Regions from separate parts of the Homo sapiens genome. Here region 2 is linked to region 1. Evidence: promoter capture Hi-C in human tissues and cell types (Jung and others, 2019). All regions are on one chromosome and are shown on one strand. The core of a region is centred on a gene start or on the middle of the fragment in contact, and the rest is flanking DNA. Distances in the headings are between cores, read along the strand shown. Region 1 holds the start of IFNA5 (interferon alpha 5). Region 2 holds the start of IFNA13 (interferon alpha 13).

Region 1 (6,947 bases), core at 1,470-3,969:
GGTGGAGGCCATTATCCTAAGCAAACTAATTCAGGAACAGAAAATCAAATACTGGATGTTCTCACTTATAAGTGGGAGCCAAATATTAAGTATATATGGACACAAAAAAAGGAGCAACAGACACAGGGGCCTACTTGAAGGTGGAGGGTGGGATGAGAATGAGAATTGATAAACTACCTATTGTGTACTATGCTTATAACCTAGGTGATGAAATAATTCATACTCCAAATGTCTGTGACATGTAATTTATCTATATAGCAAACCTACACATCTACCCCTGAACCTAAAATAAAAGTTTAAAAGAAAATAACAGTGATATGTATTGCTTTTTTAATGTAGAAAGTATATTTTCAAAAGAAAACTGAGGCTCAGAGAGATTAAGTGGTTTTCTGAACATCACGCTTACATGTAAGCAGAATGTAATTTCAATGTAAAATTCTTTATTTTTATTTACACCTGAGGTATAAGCTTTGTATTCAGGATTTCTGTAATAATTATTACATCTCCTCTTACTACTGAGTTATATGCAACTCTCTGCCGCACTCTGAATTTCTCTTTGGTTCACGTATTTTCAGCTGGTTTTGGCCAAAAGTATAAAGAGATTCTCTCATCCAGTTTCCCATTTTATTTCATGAGGGAAGTTTGTCATTTTTTCCTGACATGTAACATAGTATTAATCAAAATAATAATAAATTATTATGCAAATAATATTATGATTTAAATACATAAAATATTAAACATATTAACATGACTTGCCAATAGATTGAATCCACGAACTCTATTTTCAAAAAAGAAAAACTATGTAGATAAAAAATAGTACACATTCTTTTTCAAGTCCAACCTTATTTCCCCCCTCCATTTCCATGGCAAACATGTCACAATTATTTCCTACATATGGTTATCACTGATTTCTCTTCTCTGATTCACTCTTCCACCTACTCCAGTATGGTTTGTACTGATTAATTCTGCCAATCCAGCTCTCACCAAGATCTCCACCGCCATCTATTTTTCTGATGTTCTGGGCAGTTTTAATCCACATTTCCCATAAGTCTATTGATTCTTCTTCTAAGTACATTTATTTTCTAAATACATTTTTATCATCATTCCCTCTTGTCCTTCTAATGTTTAAGGTATTCCACCTCTGTTTCCTTTGTGTCTCTCCTCTTCCCTCTCTTTAATGGTGGAAGGTCCTCAGAATCTAGTTTAAGTCTTATTTTCTTCTCTACATTGGCTCCTCACATGACAGCCTCCATTTTTAGGCATTTGGTTGCCAGTTATGATCCTCCAGACATTGTATTCCTTGGATATTGCAAACTCATGTATCTGACTAGCAATGCACATTCGCAATTACATGTTTAAAAGTCAGTTTAGAGAGGCTAGCTCTGCTTTTATTTTTCTTTCTGGACGTGCCTCTATCTGCGTTCTGCTGAGAGCAATTCACTGTTTTTTTTCCTAGCTCACATTATAGCATTTAACATAACTCATATTAATCATAATTATTGTTGTTAAATTTCTGGCAAAAATCAAAGATACAAGGGAACAGGAATTGTATTTATTATGTTCACTTAAGAAAAATCTTCCTTTACTTAAAATTTGAATAAAATAATGATAGGTAACTGAACTGTACCATCTGTTTTTAATCAAGTTATACAATCAGGCTTGGAGTTTCATTTTAAAGAATAAACAAACAATTAATAGTAAAAATCTAATGAACAAAGCAAAATAATCAGTTGACAAAACATAAAGAACATATTTTATTATATTAGCCACAAAGTAAAGGTGGATGTAATATTACCTGAACAAACATAATTTAAAATAATTTAAATCTTATAAATAAATAAATATTTAAATAGATTAGATAGAAGACAGACAGATAGATAAATAGATAGAATAGATAGATTGGCATGATCATCTGTAAAGATTTTGTCCCTGTGGAGCTAAAGAAGTGTTGCTTAACACGTGTGAAACGTTTGAAAATTTTGATTCAACTCAAGTCATGGATATAGCAGAAATTAATATTTGAAACGGCAGAACTCAAGAAGTGTGAAATGGTGTACTAGTCAATGAGAATCATTTCGATGTTGAACCAGTTTTCATTCCTTCCTCCTTAATCTTTCTTGCAAGTTTGCTGATAAAGAGAAGGATCTCATGATTTCTGCTCTGACAACCTCCCATGCACAAGGGCTGTATTTCTTCTCTGTCAGATAGAGGGTGATTCTTTGAAAGTATTTTCTCACAGTCAGGATAGAGTCCACATTCATCAGAGGAGTGTCTTCCACTCCAACCTCCTGCATCATACAGGCTTCCAGGTCATTCAGCTGCTGGTAAAGTTCAGTGTAGAATTTGTCTAGAAGTGTCTCATCCCAAGTAGCAGATGAGTCCTTTGTGCTGAAGAGATTGAAGGTCTGCTGGATCATCTCATGGAGGACAGAGATGGCTTGAGCCTTCTGGAACTGGTTGCCATCAAACTCCTCCTGAGGAAATCCAAAGTCATGTCTGTCCTTCAGGCAGGAGAAAGGAGAGATTCTTCCCATTTGTGCCATTATCATCAAAGTCCTCCTGTTACTCAGGCTGTGGGTCTGAGGCAGATCACAGCCCAGAGAACAGATTGACTTGCAGTTGAGCACCACCAGGGCCATCAGTAAAACAAAGGGCAAGGCCATTGGGGAGGTTGCAGATGCTTCTGGGCTGTTGAGATTGAGTGACCCTGAACCTTGGGCTCTTCTCTGAAGACCTTGTTTTGTGCACAGATCTTAAAAAGGTCACATACGAGTTTCCATTTTCTGAATGCCTTGTGTTACTTTCTACTTCTCTTTTTGCTTTCTTTTATGCTCTTTCTACATAGATGTACAGGAGTGTTTCTCAGTTTATTTATTTTTACATTATTACCTCATCTTCCTCTGCCACATATGCTTTTTAGAAATTTTTTTTCTAACTAAAAATCCCATTAAATTTTAATAACACAGATATACTATGTGTTGGCTGATGTATATACATTACAGTACCCATTATCGAGAGAGAATATTGTACTTCTTTAATGCTTTAAAAGCAGCGTAATAGAATGTAAAATAGAATTTATTCAGTCCCGGATTAAGAATGAGCAAATGAAAATTCTAAGGTAAAAGTTAATAATTAAATTTACAATTTATGGATATTTAACTTCATAGTTCAATTTGTTTAAGTAACAATGTGATTTATTTACTTATATAAATTGTAGTGTGTCAGATTAAATAAGTAAATTAACAAATTATGAAAATATATAATATTGCCTAGTATAATGAAATATTTAAAAATTCAAAATAGCTAAAGACTATTAAAATTGAAATTATTTGTAACATTTATTTTTAGGGTACTTTCAATTTTGCTTCATAGGGAAATTTAAAAAATTCACTAGCTTCTAGATATTGATCTAGATATTGTCAAAAACCTTTTTCTCTTCAGTGCTTGACATAATTATTGATGTGTTGAACAACTTTAGTAGAATTAAATAGTAAAAGATAAAGTATTTTTATTGAAACCTCAAAACTCAAAACACAGTCATAAATGCTCAGGATCAAATATAAGCAACATACACAAGACAGCAAATGACAGCTCATATGTATACAGAGGCCACCTCACATGATATGACTTTGACATCTAATAAATCTTGGAAAGTCCTCCAATAACAGCCACCCATTTGCCATATGCTTGTAGCACTGATCTTGTATACCTTTTGTGTATCTTCCATGAACTCAAGGTCAATGCTTCTGATGTTACAAGAAAACCAAATTAGGCCAGGCGCGGTGGCTCACATCTGTAATCCCAGCACTTTGGGAGGCTGAGGTGGGTGGATTACAAGGTCAGGAGATCAAGACCCTCCTGGACAACATGGTGAAAGCCCGTCTCTACTAAAAATACAAAAATTAGCTGGGCGTGGTGGCACGTGCCTGTAATCCCAGCTACTCGGGAGGCTGAGGCAGGAGAATTGCTTGAACCAGGGAGTCGGAGGTTGCAGTGAGCCGAGACCACCCCACTGCACTCCAGCCTGGCAACAGAGCGAGACTCCGCCTCAAAAAGCAAGCAAACAAACAAACAACAACAACAAGAACTCAATTAAAAAAATACTAAGGAATAAAGTTTTGTCAGACAGAGTTGAACTTTAGAGGGCCCCAAGAAATAACTTTTACATTCTTGGAAGCAATATTATACTTAATGAGTATATGCAATGGAGAAAAATGTCATCAATTTGATTTTAAAAATATTATTTGTCATGAAAGGTCAGATTTCCAAAGAACCCACAGAGGTTCCAATTCTAGTTGATTCTCCTCAAACTGAAGAAAACCATTTTTGTCCTAAATGTCCATAGTGTAATGTAAATGTGATAGCATGAATGGGTTGTACAATTGTTTACATAGCATGCAGGATACCAGAGATCTTTCTTTCTCATTTTCATTTTCATTGAAAGTAAAGGTTGTCTCTTTTTGAATCCTTAAGAATGGAGACAAAAAGAAAAATGTATATCTAAATGTGATTTTAAAAATCCTACAGAATGGAGATAGAAAGAAAACAAATGTGTATCTAAATGTGATAAAAGAATCCTGATTCTTTTCTGGTCACTTGGGCTAGGAGATTCTAATCCTAAGTTAATTTGTTAGTTTTATTTTCCCCAGCACCATCTCACTCACAAGGCAGTTATCACAGTCAGTAACACCCTTTTCTCTAGAGTGACAATATCCTCTAGAGAGACAATATCTCACTGGGAAAAAAAGGATGACAAAATGCAACTTTCCTACATTCATCCCAGTAAAGAAGGAGATAAAGGAATGGGGAAGAGGAGAAGCAAAATCGTAGAAGATATGTAGATCAAAGGGAACAAATGGGTATGAGCTGAAAAAAAAGAGTAATCATTCCTGGTCCACGCAGTGTTTTCAGCTTTGCTGAATCCAGCCTTCATGGAGTCACACCAATCGCAAGAATTTGTACATAAAAAAAGGGCAATTTTTAAAAGAGTACCATGTACTCTTTGCATAATGAGTAAGTGTTAATTCTCAAGTTCTCCCTTAGTGTATAAATACATTCAAGAGATCAATATTTCCCTTATTATGTTTTTTACAGGAATCAAGGGAGTTAACAATTTTAAAGGACACTTCCCCCAATTTAATAAAGTTTAATAATGAAGATAATGTTTAAAAAAGGAAGGAGACAGGTAAATTGATGAAGGTGTTTATTTTCAGTCAGATATTGTTCTTAGAACTTACAGATTTGATTCTCATTTTACCAATAATGAATATCCTCTTTTTGTATTAACTGAACCCCTACCATATACCTACCCACCATTTATTCACTGGAGATATCAGTGACCAAAGAAGACTGATAGGTTCTACTATTATTCCTATTTACAAAAGAAAAAACAGAAGAACAGTGAGGTATTGAATTTGAGGCTACTATTTAAACCCCAAAATTGGACTCTAAATCCTCAGCTCTTACATGGTCTTTGGGAATATTTCTGGTCATAAGAACTGATTTCTGCATTGGTCAGTGTTTTCCCAGGAGAGTCCTGCCTAAGTAATGACAGGGTCTTTCTCTTCAGCTGTTCTTTTTTACTGAAACGTCCCATTTGCTTTTGCCAACATGTTACATTACAATTAAATTAGACCCCATTTTACTTACACACTATATTCTAGTTTTTTCTTCTTGAGAATGTATTTCCATAAGCTTGAATGTATTTGTAAAATACTTGGTTCATCATAAGCAACTCTTTGAAACCCTATGTATATCTACTCATTTATTCAAATATCCATAATACTTTAGATTTCTACCAGTTTAGTGCAAACCTAAGTAAGACTAAGCCATGATCGGGATATAAATATGATCTAAATCAGAAATAAACCAATAAGCTAAGGCTCAGAGATCAGGAAAAAAACCCTCTGGAAGGGCTGCCTAATAGGATTGGAGGTGTGCAAATGGGAAGCACTTCTGGAGAAATGTAGAGAGTCCAGGGCATTAGAGGAGGAGGACTGCAATGACAAAAGGTTCTGAGTTACCTGACTTTCCAGCTGGCTGATGCCTTTTATGTTGTAGGTCAGCAGAGTTTGCTACTGTGATGATTGTGCTGGCTTACATTGAGAAACTGGTAGAGAAAAAATTATGCTAACACTTGGTATTACAGTAATGAAGACTTTATTTAGGACTATTGCGACAGATGTCAAAACTATCACAATAGGGGAGAGAGATCAATCTGGGCTCAACTCTGAATATGACACAGACAGCCTGGGATTTGTAACCAACAAGCAGAATGACAGGATCTGTGGATGGAAAATCAATAAGAAATATGGCCATTGGGAGGGCCATTGGGAAATGAGGGTTCTGCAGGCCTGGCTGAGCTGGGGTCTGGTTGAACTTTGGAACCTAGGTTCTCTGAAGACATTATTTCTATGCATGGCTTTCAATAGGGGACATCTAGTTTTTATTTTCTGAACATTTCTCTATATGTCTACTTTTTGTTTTCATTTACATATTGCATATTAGGCTTAAAAACACAACATCAATTGAGACCCTTAATTTTTGCAATAGAATTTGCACAGTAAACTTCAGGTGTGCCAATCTAAATGTACATTTATCAATTAAATGAGAACAGTCATTGTCATAAAGGCTGAAGTGTATGTAGGAATGTAAATACTTATATACTTTTTTCATACAAATATTCTTCTTTTCTGTGTCAGGTGAAAAGTTTTCAGCCCTGATCCTAGGTTGCATTATACCCTGCATGCATTACATAGGCTCTCTCTACCATCTGGGTATCTGTATTTGAGAATTTATCCGACCAGCTTTGACAATAAACCCTTTAGAAGAAAGAATTGGGTTTTGTCCATTGTTTCATTCATAGCAGATGCTGACGATTATTAGTTAGTGAGCCTCTCTGATTTTTCTATTTATTTAAAAATACATTCATGCAATTCCATGTGATT
Region 2 (7,367 bases), core at 498-2,997, 63 kb after region 1:
AATAAGCATATATACATATGTTTTATATATATACACTATATATAAAATATATATATAGTGTGTGTGTGTATGTGTGTGTGTGTGTATATATATACATATATATACGTATATATATATATGTACGTATATATATACACACACACACACATACACACACACACACACACACACATACATTCTAGAGGCTGGTCTGCCTGAGATTTAGGCAGAGACACAGTTCCAGACCATATTAATCACCATTGTCTCTATTTGTCCATCCCTCTGTTTCCTTTGTGGCTCTTCTCTTCCTTCCCTTTAAAGGTGGAAGGTCCTTAGAATCACGTTTAAGTCCTTTTCTCTGTCTACACTCTCTCCACACATGAGCACTTTCATTTCTGGGATTTTGCTTGCCACATATGAACTCCCAGCAATTGCATTCCTTATAATTTGCAAACTCACATATCCAACTGGCAATAGACAGTTTCTACCACATGTTGTATCAGTCAACTTATAGAGGATATCTGTTTATTTTTATTTCCTCACATGTTTCAGTTTACCTCCTGCCGAAAGAAATCATTGTTCATTCCTTTTTCTCCTTATAGTATTCAGGATAACTGATACTAAGTATGATTACTATTTTTAGTTTTATTCCATACAAAAATCAAACATGCAAGAGAGTAGGAAGTAGATTTATTGTATTCACCTTTATAACTTGAGTACAACATACAACCTGGTTTAGAGAAAGGTCATTTTTACTTACATCTCTCATATAATAATGATGAGTAAATAAATTATACCCTTTATTCTCTCATCAGGTTGCACAGTCAGGCTAGGAATTTTGTATTAAAGAATGAACACATACAGGAAGTTCCTATAGTAAAAGTTTAATGAACAACATAAAATAATGAATTGAGTAGATATAAGGAACATGTTTTATTACACTAACCACAGTGTAAAGATGCACATGATGTTATATGAACAAAAATAATTTAAATCTTATGAATAGCTAAATAAATATTTAAATAGATAAATCAGTTTATCAGCATGGTCATAGTTATAGCAGAAGTGAGAGTCTTTGAAATGGCAGAATTCATGAAAGCGTGACCTGGTATATGAGTCAATAAGAATTGTTTCATGTTGGACCAGGTGTTATTCCTTCCTCCTTAATCTTTCTTGCAAGTTTGTTGATAAAGAGAGGGATCTCATGATTTCTGCTCTGACAACCTCCCAGGCACAAGGGCTGTATTTCTTCTCTGTCAGATAGAGAGTGATTCTTCGGAAGTATTTCTTCACAGCCAAGATGGAGTCCGCATTCATCAGGGGAGTTTCTCCCACCCTCTCCTCCTGCATCACACAGGCTTCCAAGTCATTCAGCTGCTGGTAGAGTTCGGTGCAGAATTTGTCTAGGAGGTCCTCATCCCAAGCAGCAGATGAATCTTTTGTGGTAAAGAGGTTGAAGATCTGCTGGATCAGCTCATGGAGGACAGAGATGGCTGGAGCCTTCTGGAACTGGTTGCCATCAAACTCCTCCTGGGGAAATCCAAAGTCATGTCTGTCCATCAGACAGGAGGAAGGAGAGATTCTGCTCATTTGTGCCAGGAGCATCAAGGTCCTCCTGTTATCCAGGCTGTGGGTCTCAGGGAGATCACAGCCCAGAGAGCAGCTTGACTTGCAGCTGAGCACCACCAGGGCCATCAGTAAAGCAAAGGGCGAGGCCATCATAGATATTGCAGATGCTTCTGGGCTTGCTGAGATGGGTGACTCTGAACCTTGGGCTCTAGGTTCTCTGAAGGCTTTGCTTCCTGCAGATGCCTTAAATAGGGAACATACTGATTTCCACTTTCTTAATGCTTCTGGACCACTTTCCATTTCTGTTTTTGCTTTCCTTCTTGAACTCTTTACATGAGTTTAGAGCCGTGTTTCTCAACCATTTTGTTTTTCATTATTGTCTCCCCCATCTTGTTCCCAGAGACTTTTTAGATTTTTTTTCCTAATTGAACCCACCGTGAAAATTTAATAACACAGATATAATATCTATCTATTTGTGTACTATATGTATATCTCTATACTCAAAAAGTACAAAGTTTAATCATTTTATTCAATGCAAGTTTAAAAATAACCAAATGAAAATTTTAAGATAAAAGTTAAATTTAAACGCTATTCAAATTTAACTTAACTTTATAACTAAATTTGCTTGTGGGCTTCAATATAGTTTATTTACTGATATAAATTGTAATGTATTAAATTACATAAGAAATTTAACAAATTATAAACATTATCTAATGTTTCTAGATAAACATTATACAGCTAAGTAATGAATGTTTATGAATTATTTGAAACTGATAAAGACTTAATAATTTAAAATATTTTTATCATTTATTTTTATTATACTTAACTTTTAATTTTGTTGCATGTGAGAAAATTTTTAACTTCACTAGCTGCTAGATACTCACCTAGAGAGTGTGAAGAATTTTTTCTTCAATTCTTGACCTAAATATAGATGTGTTGAACAACTTCAGTAGAATTGTTAAAATATAAATTATTTATATTTCATTTCAAAGCCCACAACACAGACAGAAATGCTAAGGATCAAACATAAGCAATATCTATAAGATGGCCAGTGACAAACCATATGTATGCAGAGGACACCTCTCATGATATGACTTTGAGATCTAATACATCTTGGAAAGTACTCCAATCACAGCTACCCATTTGCCATAGGTTTGTAATGCTGAACTTTTATACCTTTTGTGTATCTTCCATGAACTCAATGTCAGTGCTTCTCATGTGATACACAAGAAAACCCAATGGAGAGAAAAAAAAAAAAACTAAGGAATAAGATTTTGTTAAATAGGTTGAGCTTTGAAGGGCCACAAACCATTTAAATATGTAAGATTTGTTCCCACTCCCAAGAACTAACTTCTACATCCTTGGGAGTAGTATCATATGCAATGAGAATACACAATTGAAAAAACATCCTCGATTTGATTAAAAATTTTTTGCATGAAAGTTCAAATTTCCAAGGTGCCTTCAGAGGTTCTTTGCTGATTCCTAGCAAACTAAAGGAAACTATCTTTGTCCTAGATGCGCATAATAGGATGTAAATATAATAACATAAATAAGTAGACAATTGTTTTACATAGCATGCCAGACACCAGATATCTTTCTTTCTCATTTCATTTTCATAGAAAGCAAAAGTTGTCACTTTTTGCATCCTAACTAATGGGAACAAAAAGATAACACAAGTGGCCGGGCGTCGTGGCTCACATGTGTAATGCCAGCACTTTGAGAGGCCGAGGCAGACGGATCATCTGAGGTTGGGAGTTTGAGACCAGCCTGACCAACATAGTGGAGGTTAAGGGGTGGGAAAGAACAGAAGCAAAATAGTAGAAGGGATGTAGGTCAAGGTAACACGTAAGTATGGGCTGGAAGAAAAGTAATTACTCCTGGTCCACAGTGTGTTTTCAGATTTACCGAACCCCATCTTGCAAATATACCAACTGCAAGAGTTTATACACAAGAAAGAGAAATTTTTGAGAGTACAATATTCTCTCTGGAAAATGGGTCAGTGTTCATTGCACCAAGCTCTCCACTATTGGATAAGTAAACTTAGAAGGTCAGTTTTTTTCTTCTTATATTTCTAGTAAGAAACAAGAGAATTGATAATTTCAGAGGACACTTCCCTAACTTTTAATAGAGTTATATAATAAAGATAATGTTAATAAGAGAAATGAAATATCAGGCCGGGTGCGGTGGCTTACGCCTGTAATCCCAGCACTTTGGGAGGCCGAGCTGGGCAGATCACCTGAGGTCAGGAGTTTGAGACTAGCCTGACTAACATTTTGAAACACCGTCTCTACTAAAAATACAAAATTAGTCTGGTGTGGTGGCACATGCCTGTAATCCCAGCTGAAGCAGAAGAATTGCTTAAACCCAGGAGGTGGAGGTTGCAGTGAGCTGAGATCATGCCTTTGCACTCCACTTGCACCCCAGCCCAGGCAACAAGATTGAAATTCCGTCTTAAAAAAAGAAGGAATGAAATATCTAAATTGTGGAAAGTCTTTATTTATTTTCAGTCAGACACTGTTTTTAGCACTTGCATAATCAATGCTTACTTAATCAATAAAGAATATCCATTTTTCATATTTACTGAACGTCTACCATGTACCTAGCCCCATTTATTCACTAGATATATCACTGACCAAAGCACACAGTGATAGATTTTACTATTATCCCCATATGCAAAAGAAAAAAAATGAAATCCCAGGGAGCTATTAAGTTGTGGAGCCACAGTTTGGATGGAGAAAATTCAGCTCTGAAGTCTTACTTCTTACATGCTCTCTGGGACTATTTCTGGACAAAAGAACCAGAGCTGATTTCTAGGACAATCAATGTTTTCCTAGTAGAGTCCTTACTATGTAATGACAGGGTCTTTCTCTTCAGTTTCCATTTGTCTTCTTCATTGAAATGCCCCATTTGTCCATGCCAACATGTTACATTACAATTAAATTGGGCCCCACTTTACTTTCACATTATATTCTAGTTTTGTCTTCTTGAGGATACACCATCATAAGCATGAACATATTTGTAAAACATATTGTTCACCCCAGTGAATATATTCATCAACCCTTTATATTTCTGTCAATTTAAAATTCTACATAGTACTATTCTTTTAATCAAATATCCACAATACTTTAGATTTCCCCATGTGTAGCACAAATTTAAGAAAGAACGAGTCACTGTCAGGCTAGAGACATGAACTAAATCAGAACTAAACCAAGGAACTAAGGCTCAGAGCTCAGGGAGAGCACACCTGGAAAGGTTGACTAAAGGGATTATTAAAGGTGTGGAAATGGAAACACTTCTAGAGAAATTAGGATAGTCCATGGCATTAGAGAATGAGGACTGAGATGACAAAAGACCCTGAGTCACCTGACTTGCCAGCTGGTTGATGCTTTTTATGTTGCAGGTCACCAGAGTGTGCTGCAGTGTTGATTGTACTGCCTTAATTTAAGGATCTGGTAAAGAAAAATTTATGCTGACACTTGGTATAACAGTAAAGAAGACTTATTCAGAAGTATTGCAACAGGCGTCAAAACTATCACAATAGGTGTATTAGTTCTTGCACTACTATACAGAAAAACCTGAGACTGGGTAACTTAGAAAGAAAAGAGGTTTAATTGGCTCATGATTCTGCAGACCATACAGGAAGCATGGCTACGGAGGCCTCAGGACACTTACAATCATGGCAGAAGGCTAAGGGGAAGCAGGCATGTCCTGCATGACTGGAGCAGGAGGAGAGAAGCAGGGGAGGTGCTGCACAATTTTAAACAACCAGATCTTGGAATAACTCACTCTTACCATGACACCACCAGGGGGATGGTGTTAAACCGTGAGGAACCGCCCTATGATCCAATCACCTCCCACCAGGCCCCGCCTCCAACACTGGAGATTACAATTCCATGTGAGATTTGGAAGGGGATGCTGACCCAAACCATATCAATAGGGGAGAGAGACCAATTGGTGCTCAGCTCAAAAATCAGCAAAGAGAGCCTGGGGTTTATACCCAACAAGCAGAATGAGGGGTCAGATAGAAAATCAGTAAAAGGAGACATCAAAGGCAGGGGGATCCTTCCTAAGCTGAACATAATTCTTTCTAAAGGCAAGCCAGGGTAATTACATATTGAGTGTGTGGGATGAACAATTTGATCATATATCAAGGGTAAATCAGCTATCAAGCGTGGAAGCATTCTCATAAAACTAACTTAGTAAGATTCCTGCTACAACTGGACTTGGCAGACCTAAGAATGGACCCAAAGGCACGAGCCAGTCAACGAGAGAGTTTGGAGGAGACTGACTAAAGTTTGGCAAAGGACAGAGTCATTGTCAGAACCTTAAGGGGTAAGAGACAGAACTGTCTGCTAAACAGTTACAAGGGAGATTAAATTTTATGTCTTTTGAAAACAATACCATTTAATGAAAGATTTTAATCAGTGAAATAAATATTTTTAAAATTTTAATCAGTAATGTTAAAAATTCTGGAAGCCGATTCATTTTTATCTTGTATTTCGAAACAATTCTAGACCTATAGAGAGTTGCAAAGATAGTACAGGGAGTTCTCTTCCCTTCACTCAGCTTCTCCTAATGTTAACAACTTACATAGCCATGAAACAATGATCAAAACTAAGAAATTAAAAGTGGTGCATTAATATTTGCTAAACTTGGCCAGTCACTGGTGGCTTACACCTGTAATCCCAGCACTTTGGGCGGCCAAGGCGGGTGGATCGAGGTCAAGAGATTGACACCATCCTGGCCAACACTATGAAACCTTGTCTCTACTAAAAATACAAAAATTAGCTGGGCTTGTTGGCTCCTGCCTGTCGTCCCAGCTACTCAGAGGCTGAGACAGGAGGATCGCTTGAACCCGGGAGACTGAGGTTGCAGTGAGCTGAGATCGCGCCGCTGACCTCCAGCCTCGGCGGCAGTGCGAGATTCCGTCTCGAAAAAAAAAAAAAAAAAAAAAGAAAAAACAAACAAAGAAAAAATTTGCTAAACTTCAGGCTTCATTGTGATTTCCTTAACTTTTTGACTGATGTCCTTTTTCTGATTTAAGATTCAATCCAGGGTCCCATATTACATTTCATTGTCACATCTCTTTATTCTCCTCTCATCTATAACATGGGCTGAGTCTTTCCTGACTTTCATGACCTGGGGACTATTAAAGAATATTGGTCAGTTACTTTGTAGGATGTTCCTCAATTTGGATGTGTGGAATTTTCTCATGGTTACATTATAGATTTAATGGATGAATACAATGGAGTACATGCTCATTACATCGAATAATATAGGAAGCATACAATATCAATAACTTATTGCTGCTGATATTAAATGAATCACTTGGTTAAGTTGTTGTCTGCCAGGTTTCTCCTATGTAAAATTACTATTTGTCCCTTTCCATACTGCTTGTGTCAGAAACATATCACGAATATGAGCCCACATTAAAGGGAGGATAATTACATAGAGAACAATGTATACAAGAATTTGTTGATGTATATTAAAACATCACAGTAATTTTTTTTCTCTTCTCTTTTTTTTATTATTATTATACTTTAAGTTTTAGGGTACATGTGCACAATGCGCAGGTTAGTTACATAGGTATACATGTTCCATGCGGGTGTGCAGCACCCATTAACTCGTCATTTAGCATTAGGTATATCTCCTAAAGCTATTCCTCCCCCCTCCCCCCACCCACCAACAGTCCCCAGAGTGTGATGTTCCCCTTCCTGTGTCCATGTGTTCTCATTGTTCAATTCCCACCTATGAGTGAGAATATGCGGTGTTTGGTTTTTTGTTCTTGTGATAGTTTACTGAGAATGAAGATTTCCAAT

The links. The method cuts DNA at HindIII sites, captures the fragments that hold promoters and counts their contacts. A contact is called where the count stands out against the background at its distance.
Region 2: a contact is called between the fragment with the promoter of IFNA13 here and the fragment with the promoter of IFNA5 in region 1, in 1 of the 25 tissues and cell types used here (neural progenitor cells).

Annotation. Positions count from the first base shown.
Region 1 is chr9:21,302,594-21,309,540 of GRCh38, forward strand. IFNA5 (interferon alpha 5) reads right to left here and starts at 2,720. Exons shown (of 1, transcript NM_002169.3): 1 at 1,733-2,720. The coding sequence starts at 2,663. The coding sequence ends at 2,094. All of the region lies in intron 2 of LOC107987053 (a long non-coding RNA gene), which reads left to right. The HindIII fragment of the contact is 6,884 bases long and covers 40-6,923 here.
Region 2 is chr9:21,366,310-21,373,676 of GRCh38, forward strand. It overlaps IFNA13 (interferon alpha 13), which reads right to left and starts at 1,748. Exons shown (of 1, transcript NM_006900.4): 1 at 1,063-1,748. The coding sequence starts at 1,701. The coding sequence ends at 1,129. The HindIII fragment of the contact is 15,253 bases long and covers 1-7,367 here.